Linked DNA regions of Homo sapiens: region 1 is linked to region 2. The links are contacts of gene promoters, found by promoter capture Hi-C in human tissues and cell types (Jung and others, 2019). All regions are on one chromosome and are shown on one strand. The core of a region is centred on a gene start or on the middle of the fragment in contact, and the rest is flanking DNA. Distances in the headings are between cores, read along the strand shown.

What was found. The method cuts DNA at HindIII sites, captures the fragments that hold promoters and counts their contacts. A contact is called where the count stands out against the background at its distance.
Region 1: a fragment that was not itself captured here is called in contact with the fragment with the promoter of SIN3A in region 2 in 1 of the 25 tissues and cell types used here (spleen).

What each region holds. Positions count from the first base shown.
Region 1 is chr15:74,766,098-74,771,531 of GRCh38, forward strand. No RefSeq gene overlaps it. Among named protein-coding and RNA genes, the nearest start is that of CSK, 13 kb to the right of the region's middle. RefSeq lists enhancers at 1,237-2,014, 5,179-5,434. The HindIII fragment of the contact is 3,893 bases long and covers 1,236-5,128 here.
Region 2 is chr15:75,448,838-75,453,859 of GRCh38, forward strand. It overlaps SIN3A (SIN3 transcription regulator family member A), which reads right to left and starts at 2,853. Exons shown (of 21, transcript NM_001145358.2): 1 at 2,586-2,853. RefSeq lists enhancers at 1,271-2,190, 1,618-1,747, 3,458-3,507, 3,737-4,268, 4,269-4,801 and 2 more and silencers at 1,998-2,497, 2,718-2,817. The HindIII fragment of the contact is 10,283 bases long and covers 1-5,022 here.

The DNA of each region.
Region 1 (5,434 bases), core at 1,932-4,431, 680 kb before region 2:
ACTTAAAAATGGTTAAGATGGAGGCTGGGCACGTTGGCTCACTTCTGTAATTCCAGCACTTTGGGAGTCTGAGGTGGGTGGATCACTTCAGGTCAGGAGTTCAGGACCAGCCTGGCCAACATGGTGAAAACCCCATCTCTACTAAAAATATAAAAATTAGCCGGGCATGGTGGCGGGTGCCTGTAACCCCAGCTACTCGGGAGGCTGAGGTGGGAGGATTGCTTGAGCCTGGGAGGTAGAGGTTGCAGTGAGTTGAGATGGCTCCACTGCACTCCAGCCTGGGCAACAGAACGAGAGCCCATTAAAAAAAAAAAAAAAAGGTTGGCTGGGCACAGTGGCTCACACCTGTAATCTCAGCACTTTGGGGGGCTGAGGCAGGAGGATCATCTGAGGTCAAGAGTTCAAGACCAGCCTGGCCAACATGGTGAAACTCTGTCTCTATTAAAACTACAAAAATTAGCTGGGCATTGGGAGGCAGAGGTTGCAGTAAGCCCAGATCATGCCACTGCGCTCCAGCCTGGGCAACAGAGCGAGACTCCATCTCAAAAAAAAAAAAAATAGCCAGGTATGCCGGGCGCGGTGGCTCACGCCTGTAATCCCAGCACTTTGGGAGGCTGAGGCGGGTGGATCACCTGAGGTCAGGAGTTCGAGACCAGCCTCAACATGGAGAAACCCCGTCTCTACTAAAAGCACAAAATTAGCCAGACATAGTGGTGAATGCCTGTAATCTCAGCTACTCGGGAGGCTGAGGCAGGAGAATTGTTTGAACCCAGGAGGCGGAGGCTGCAGTGAGCCAAGATTGTGCCATTGCACTCCAGCCCAGGCGAAGGAGCGAGACTCCATCTGAAAAAAGAAAAGAAAAGAAAAGAGGAGGGTGGGCGCGGTGGGTCACGCCTGTAATCCCAGCACTTTGGGAGGCTGAGGCGGGCGGATCACAAGGTCAGGAGTTCGAGACCAGCCTGGCCAATATGGTGAAACTCTGTCTCTACTAAAAATACAAAAATTATCCGGGAGTGGTGGCGGATGCCTGTAGTCCCAGCTACTCGGGAAGCTGAGACAGGAGAATCGCTTGAACCCGGGAGGCGGAGGTTATAGTGAGCCAAGATCGAGATCGGACCACTGCACTCCAGCCTGGGAGATAGAGCGATACTTTGCTTCAAAAAATAAAAAATCAAAAAAAAAAAAAAGAGGAAAAAGAGTTCTAGGCAGAGGGACCAACCTGTGCAAAGGTCCTGAGGCAGGAAAGGGGTTACTGTGTGCTTGAAGGCAAATTATCACCCCTCTTAGGAAAGGCATAGCCTCACCTGTGAAATAACCCAAATTTAGAGATGGAGAGACAGAGGTTCAGAGAGGGAAGATGGCTTCTTCAGGAAAGCAGAAGAGCCAGAACTGAAACCTAGATCTTTTTGGCTCTATGAACTCAGAGGTATTTCAGGTATGCATTTGGGGACCTTTTGCAAGATTGTAAAGACCAGGACGGGAAGGAAAGGGCCACCCTCCGGGGGCTTTTCTTTTCCTGGGAAGAAGGTCTTCTTTCCAGGAAGGTGGTGTACGGGCAAGGCTGAAAACCCAGCCTTCATTCTGCCAGGCCAGTCCCCTCCTAGTCCCTGCTGCCCCAGGGCTGCAGAATCCTATCCTGGCTCCTGCCAGGCTCCCCTGCAGCTGGGCAAACAGGCAGTGGGTGGGACTCGGTATAATTTCCTCCTTGCCCGCCTGGGGTCTGCTAGGCTCTGGCTGAGCTCTCTGGCCTCTGCCCTGCACCCCCAACTTGGAGCCCAAAGGGGGTCATGGGTCTTTCTGCCCTGTGTCCCCAGGGATGCACCCGATGAGTTTGAGAAGGGGCTGCCTTCTCACCCAGAGAGAGGTGAGGCCATCCCCTCACCCAGAGAGGGGCTCCAGGCCCCACTCCAAGGGAGAGTCAGAACTTCCCGGTGCCTACAGGCGCACTGTGCTAAACCAGTGTGAGCATCCTGCGCTGATAATGCTACATGCATAAGCTGCGGATGCACAGGGGCTCAGACTCAGGGGACTGTGGGGAGTCCTGGCAGCCACATATACATCGGGCTCACCCCTGTAGCACCCCATCTAGAAAAGCCCATCCAGAGCCAGAAGGGGCTTCTGGGGATGGTTCCTGGAAGGGCTGGGTTCTGCTGTTCTCTGAGTGACCAATCCACCCATTCTTTCCAGAAATGGTCCTATCCCATCTCCTTCCCCTCCAGCCGCTCTCGGTTCCCTGCCCTCATCCACCCAGGATGTCACTGGGCCTGCTGCGAGTGGCTGCCCGGGGAAAAGGCCAGGAGCTCTGCAATGAGCCTGTAATCCCAGCACTTTGGGAGGCTGAAGTGGGTAGATACGCACTACACACAAGCCAGCACCAGGTTCCTCCCACCCAGGGGATGACAGAGGAGCTCCAGCTCACCACCGTGCCTCAAGTCCCCTGCTTAACTGTCCTATGTGAGCTCAGGGCCGCCCTCTGGGGGCTTTTCTTTTATTTATTTATTTATTTATTTATTTATTTATTTATTTATACTTTAAGTTTTAGGGTACATGTGCACAATGTGCGGGGCTCCCTTCCTCCCAGCAGCCATGCTGTCACGTGCTCCTTGCCCCGGAGAGGCAGGAATCTGTCCCGAAATGTCGAGCTGAAACGCTTCCTGGACGCTTGCTACAACCGTGGTCTTCAAATTCTACTAAATTTTTCCAGTGGCAGGATTCACTGTTGAAAGGAAAGCTTCCCACCTTGCCTGTTCCTCCTAACCCCAAAAAAGTCGGGCTTGTGATCTATGGGGAGAAGAATAGCCCCCGCCCCACACCCATCTGATGCCCAATTCTTCCCAATCCATCAGCCCCCAGCCCTGTCCTCATGTCAGGATCTGCCCGCGTCACTCTCCCCAGCCAAGAACTGGAGCCGAAAATGCAGTGTAGGCTGCCCCCTCGTGGGCAGTTAGAGAAACACATGTTTCTCATAGCTGCTAGCCTTTACCCACTGTCTTGGGGACCCCACCCCAAATAAAAAGGCAACCTAAGGAATAAGCGACTTTGTTTTGCAAATACAACTTCAAGACAAGTCTCAAGTCAGTCCTATGCAGAAATTCTAGAGAAGCCACTAAGAGTGGCCAGAGGACAGCCCCCCACTTCCTCTCATTCCCCAGCCTGGTCCTCATAGACCCACCTGGAGTAGAAATTCCTCGTGCAGGCCAGGCGTGCTGGCTCACACCTATAATCCCAGCACTTTGGGAGGCTGAGGCGAGCTGATCACATGAGGTCAGGAGTTCGAGGCCAGCCTGGCCAACAGGGTAAAACCCCGTCTCTACTAAAACTACAAAAAAAAAAAAAAAAAATAGCCAGGTATGGTGGCAGGCACCTTTAATCCCAGCTACTCAGTAGGCTGAGGCAGGAGAATCGCTTGAACCCAGGAGGCAGAGGTTGCAGTGAGCCAAGATCACGCCACTACACTCCAGGCAGGGTGACAGAGCAAGACTCCATCTCAAAAAAACAAAACAAAACAAAAAAAACACCAATTCCTCATCTAACTCCCTGCCAGGAGTTCAACTTCTGTTCTCATACTTTTAAGAACAGAGAGCTCACTACCCTCAAGGCTGATTCATTATATTTTCTGTGCTGGGGCACTGGGAACACTGATGGTGCAGATCCATTTGTAACCTCCTGGGACTCTCACATTGCTCACTTAGCTGGAGCAACAGGTGAGAAAACGAGGGTTGCAGGTGTGCCAAAGGCACAGGGATGAGAGCGGCCAGTTCTTCACGGACCTACACCTCCACCTGCCTCTTCTCAGGGATCTTATATTCAAAGGGATTAAATTCCAGGATCTTGGAGATGGCTGCAGTCCAGCTGCCCCCTTGCTTCTGCTTTCACTTGAGAATCAGCCGAAGTTCCCCGAGCACCTGCTCCATGCCAGGTCCCTCCTGGCACTTTGTCCCACTTAGTCCTTAAAGCTCGCTGTGATAGCGATGTGCTAATGCCCACTGGGCAGATGGGGACAGAGGCGCAGGAGGTCACTTGCCCAGGATGACACCTCTAGTCATTTGCGGAGTTGGATCTGGCCTCAAGCTTGCTGGTGGCTCTTGGAGCCCATGCAGAAGTGACTGGGGCAACACATGACACTCCAACTTGGCATTCCCCTCAAAGGGCCTGGACCAAGCCAAAAGCTGCGGAGAAGGCTCAGGGCAGACTGTGAAGTCAGGAGTTTGACCCCAGCCTGCTATGTCATGCTCCTCCTTCCTGGCCCTGCCTCCACCTGTGCCCTATCTCTGCCTCCCACCTCAAGGTCCAGGACTGTTGCAACCAGACCCTCCTACCCCAACCATGTCCAGCAGGAGATGGTCCCTGCACCAGAAGCTTCTGAAGGTCTACATGGAGGGCTGGCAGGCAGAAGGCAAACATCTCCCCCAACTTGCAGCCCTTCACTGCCGAGCAAACCTAGGACCTGGGGCCTGGGGTCTCTGCAGCTGCCATCTGGTGACCTCCTCATGGGGCAGGAAAAAGAGTTCAGGCTCTGGGGTGGTTCTGTAAATCACCCTCTGTGGGTCTCCCTTGCCCTACAGTTAAGATCTAGATGCTACTGTTTTCCTTGAAGGAAGATGATCAAATGAGAGCAAATGTGCAAACACCCAGCACACAGTAGGTGTTCAACAAAGTGTGCCTTCCTACCTGTCCTCACTTTGCTCTTATTACTCAGGAAAATCTGAGGATGTCAGCAACACTGAGGCCAATCCAGGATCCCCAGGGGCCAGCGTGGTGGTGGCCTTCAAATCAGGGAGCAGCCCACGGTAGGGGGCCCTGTGGGGTCCCAGCAGCCATATGCTGATCTGGCTCACCCACCCCCCAGCACCTCCTCTAGAAAAGTTATTCCACAGCCAAATGGGGCCCCTTCCAGCTCCCTGCCCTCATCCACCCAGGACCTGCCCTGTGATGCTCGCAATCGGGAACAGTCAGCTCTGGCTCCAGCCCTAGGTAAGCCTGGGACATGGTCCTCCCAGGAGCCAAACGGCTCATCTTTCCCAGAGCAGACATGCGCCTGCTCTCCAGGCGTGCCTCTGAGCCTGCCCGACAGGGCAGTGTGACCTTGCCTGCCTCTCTGTCGCTCTCTCATTCCTTCCCCTTGAGCTCTGTGTTGTGGCCACCAGGAGGCGCTGTTCCCCCTCAGACCCGAGTAGACCAACAGCCCAGCGCCACCAGAGACCAGACTGGATTCTAGATTTTCTCTTTTTTTTTGAGATGGAGTCTCGCTCTGTCGCCCAGGCTGGAGTGCAGTGGCATAATCTCCGCTCACTGCAACCTCCACCTCCTGGGTTCAAGCGATTTTCCTGCCTCAGTCTCTGAGTAGCTGGGACTACAGGCGTGCACTATCACGCCTGGCTAATTTTTTGTATTTTTAGTAGAGACAGGGTTTCACCACGTTGGCCAGGCTGGT
Region 2 (5,022 bases), core at 1,603-4,102:
AGGAATCTTGTCAAATTACTACACACCTCCTTCCTTAAAAAAGAAAAAAAGTCTTTCTCTGTATGTAAATTATTAAAACCCTCTTAATTACGAAGTGCCAATCTTTCTAAGCTATTTATCTCTGAACAAAATTATAGTATATAAAATAATTATCTGGAGATTATGAAGCATTTATGAAAATGTTCCTAATACAGCAAAACCAGGTTCTTACTTGAATCCTTATAGACTCTTCTGTGTTCCCCAGTATACAGCACTGCAAATCATGGGAACTATATATGTAGCCCAAATTTTCCTCAATGGTCAATCGTTCTCCACTATCTCTCTCAGTTTATGGCATCAGAAAAAACCACCTGGATTTTTTGTCTCCCCACCAATTCTATTACAGCCATCATTTGCTAAACTAAAATGCTATTGCTTTTGCAACTTCCTTAGCAGAGAAGGTAGGACCCACCTACCCTTTTCACATAAATATAGCACAGGGTACCACTCAGGCCCTACTAACCAAAGCACAAATCTAGAATTTCACTTCAGATAATTAACCAGAGGCTCATTTAGACATTACTGCATAAATAAACATTGGTTCCATGTTTATTTTTCTCATGAAAAATGTGAAAAACATTGAAATAATTTCTCTCAATAGGAAAAGATAATGTATCAAGTGAAAGCAAAAACCTCATCTAATGTGGTTCTGCTATCTAAATCTGAAATGCCCTAAGGCAACTCTCCAATACAGGCTGGAGGGCAACGCTACAGAAGTCACATACAGAAGGCTACCCTGATCCACAATTCCACCCTCCTCTGAAATAAAAAGGGCAACAACACTGTACTATGTAGAGTATAAATAGAAAGTGGTCTAGATGGTCTAACATAAGTACATAAAATAAAAAAGAAAAGACTTTTCACCTATAGTTACCTAAATAGCAAATTCTTTAGGAAACCAAGTTTTTTTGGTTGTTTTTTGAGGCGGAGTTTTGCTCCTGTCGCCCAGGCTACAGTGCAATGGCACCATCTCGGCTCACTGCACCCTCGCCTCCCGGGTTCAAGTGATTCTCCTGCCTCAGCCTCCCCAGTAGCTGGGATTACAGGCGCTTGCCACCACGCCCAGCTTTTTTTTGTATTTTTAGTAGAAACAGGGTTTCGCCATGTAAGCCTGGCTGGTCTCGAACTCCTGACCTCAAGTGATCCACCTGCCTCGGCCTCCCAAAGTGCTAGGATTACAGGCATGAGCCACCGCGCCCGTCCAGGAAACTAAGTTTATATAGCAGAACCATGTGCACAATGAAAGCATTCAAAAATACAACTGTCAGAGATATCGGAGTATTTTATTCAAAGTCTGAGTTCTTAAAAAAAAAAAACAAACCCTACTTTATAAACAGACCAGTTTTGAGATTAAAATGTAAATCCAAACTTTCCTGTTATAAATCTCAGCCTTGTAAAGAGGAGGAGCTTCCACTGCCTTTTCAAGGCTAACTTCGTTTAAAGTCCTAACGCACCGAAACAGACGCCAAGTCTACTACCCACCACCCATTGGCTCAAAGGAAGCCCCGCCCCGTACAGCCACGGTAACTGAACATCAAGGGAACCCCAGGGAAGGTTTTCCCTCCGCCACATTTCTAGTCTCTGATGACTCCCTGCCCCTCCCCTACCATCACCACCGCGGATCTAGGGTTCCAGCACCAGCCACGCACGCTCCTACAAGAGGACCTTGGGCACTTCGCCCCAATAGTTACAACCAAGAGGGGAGTGGGGGTGACCATGCTCCCACTCTCCTGGCTGCACGGTGCCAGACACGCTGCATGGAGCAAAGCGGAGAAAGCAGCTCCGGCACAGGGCCCTTGTGCCCCCAGGCAGAAGGCATGACCCAGCCACAAGAGTAAGTCCTGACACCTCCACAGCTCCCAGTCGGCGGGTGCCCCTCCCTCCCCACGGAGACATAGGGCGGGGCAGATCTAGGCGCCGAGACTCCCAGCCAGACCCGACAGCGGGCTTTCCCTAGCACCTCCTCATTGCCAAGGAGGCGGAAACCCGGGGCCTGGGCGGGGTGCAGGGGGGGACGGCCAAGGGGAGTGGCATCACGGATCAGTACGGCCCCTCCGGCCAACCGGATCCCAAGAAGGCGGAGGAACTCAGACTTCACGCCCCCTCCCTGCCGCGCCCTGAATCTACACGCGGGAGACCCCCCCCTACCCCTCCCCGACCCCAGCAGGCCAGAGCGCGGCCGCCAGCCCGAGGCCCCGCCCACCCCAGGAGGAGGGGAGGGGGTGGTCGGCCGCAAACTGCACTCAGCGCGAAGCCGGCCCCGCCCCTTTCTCCACAATCGCACGCGCGCGCCGGCCCCGCCTCTGAGCGGCGGCGCGAGAGCCCGCCCCCCTCCGCGCGCACCGGGACTACGCTCTCCTCCCCCTCCCGCGCGGAGAGCTACCCCGCTCCGCCCCCCACCCCCCTCACACAACCACACACCTCCCGCCCGTCTGCTCTACGGGAAGCCGAGGAGGTCAGCCCCCCCCCCCCAAAATACACACCCTCGAGTCCGGCGTTACCCGCCACCAGGCTCCCGCCCGGCCCCCGGCCCAGCGTGCTCTCACCGCAAAGCTGCTTCGGCCGCTCGTCACTGCGTGTCCCTCTCAGCGTGAGCCGCGAGCTCAGCAGGGAGGCCCCGAGAACGGCGCGGGGCACAGGCCCGCCGAAGCGGACTGCCAGCTACCTCTCCACTAACGAAGCGGTCACAGGCTCCGGTGCCCAGACTGGGAAGGAGGGAGGGAGGGAGGGAGGGAAACTCCGAGGGGGGAAGGGGAGGGGGGAAGATGGAGAAACCGTCTCCGCCGCCTCTACCGCCGCGGCCGCTTCTCTGTTACCCGGGAAATCCCGCCCACTCCCCCGACCCCGCCCCGCAGAGGGAAGACTCAGCTTCGTTCCAATACAGGACGCAATACCCGCCCGTCAAAGACTCAGCCAACCACCGAGGCCTGTCTTATGATTTTCCCGCCCCTTCCCCCTCGACTGGTAGGGGAGGGGGAGCCGCTCTCCTTCTCCACGCCCCTATTGGCGGGGAGCTTCCCTAACTCAACCCCGCCTATTGGAGACGGACTGCTGAAGCCCACCCCCGAGCCCCAACACTATTGGAGGAAGCAGGGAAGCTCTTCCTGTCTCATTGGAGGACACCACATAACCCGCCCTGCAGCGTCTCAGCCACAGGCCTAACAAGTTGGCTCCCGCCTCCGCTGGTCATCGCATTGGAAGGCTACCCCTGGCTCTCCCACCGCCCCAGTAAGGTAAGTAACCGATGTGGGGTAAAATGTCTGTAAGTGAAACAGGCTCCGCCTACCGCACTGCCGGGCCAGGCCCCGCCCCAAGAGTCGGATTGGATATCTTGGCGCTGGTAGGACCCTCCATTGGCCAGGGCGCCCGTCTAGGAAGGAGCTAATTCCACCCTGCGCGAGGAGGCTGAACCTTAGCAGTCCTTTTGTGGAATGTTTACACTAGAGACTGAAGCTCGGAGTTCCAGGGCCCGAGATAGGAGGGGGAGCGGAGCTCATCAGCGGAGACTCCACATCCTAGGATTTGAAGGAAAGGCAGCCCACCATGGAGGACTCCCTCACAAAAAAAATGAGAGAATGAGAACTCATCCTTCCGTCCAGTTATCTTTACAGTTTACATTCTACACACTGCGTCCTTGTAAACACAAATATCCGGAGCAGCTGGCAACTCCTTTCAGCCAAGTAGAGTACAGAACTAAGGTCTGGAGACCTAGGCGGAGAAGTAAACTCCCTAGAGCTGAATATGCAGTCCTAAGAGGGCGGAGATAACCAAAAGAGAGGCGGGCTCTAACAGCCACCGCCCTGGCAAGCCTCCGGAAGGCGGAGCGTGAGGCACAAGGTACTCACGATCTCCCGGGTGGATCTGGAGGCATCCTCAGAACTGAGAAAGGAGAGGAAAACACCAAAACAGGCCACGGCATAAATTAACATTGGGGACATGCCACACTCAGAGAATGGATAAAATTTCCGTAGTTGGGGACATAAGATAACGGCTGTTCACCTTCTCCTTGGCCGGGAGTGTTAATAGCAGTTCCTGTGCCCTCTCTGTGTAGGTAACAGTGCCTCGAACACACAGTGAGACAAAGTGCTTTCAATTCCTAGTTTGCTTTTATTTATTCACCAAATAGGGCGTGGGCCTGACGCTGATCTTACTTTGGGGGGCGCTCTCTCAGCGCCAGGAGAGGTGACGGGATTACGTTGTTACCGCTCTCCCGAATAAGTAGAACCCTCCTCCCAGAGAGCTAAGACCCCAAGGGACACGCCCAGGGAACCCACGCCTAGGTCCAACACTGTCCTCCCTCTGCAATCCAGCGGAAACGGCCAGGAACGAGCTCTGGCAGCAGGTGGGCCTGACTCCAGCGATGGCTTCGAGCCGCGAAACCACAGCAGCGAATTGTGAACTCCAAGGGTAGCCGACAGGTGGGAGCAGCCTCGCCAGTAGCCAAGCCCTGCCCCAGGACAGAGCTCTAAAAATAAGTCAGACCAACGAAGCGACCCCAGGGCCAAACTGCTCGGAGGTTAGGAGGAAGCGGCACTCCAGCAGAACTGACCCACGGCTACTTTTAACTTTGCGCCGCCTTCCACCACTAGACTGAGTACCACAGGGCATTCCCACCATGGTATCAAGAACTACTCAGAACCCAAGCCAGCATTAGGCCGCCCACGACTTCCCGTGAACACAGGGTACCACCTGCGCTAAGATCTCGCCTAAGGGCCCCAGGCCAGGGCACTAGGTTGTCAGAGTCTCAGATACAGCCAACTAAGGACAGCCGCTGCCATGCCTAGGAAAGAACAGACACTTGCAGCGTCTGCAGAGTTCTCGAGCTTAAGCTCAGGGAAGTCAAGGGGCACGGAAATAGCCAAGCGACAGGGTTAGAACTTTAGTACTTGGCCCCGGCCCCGAAAGGCAGATCTCAAACCCAGCAGAACCTCCGGAGTTTCGCTCCCGAAATCCACTCCGCACTGTAATCCCCTGGCTTCACCC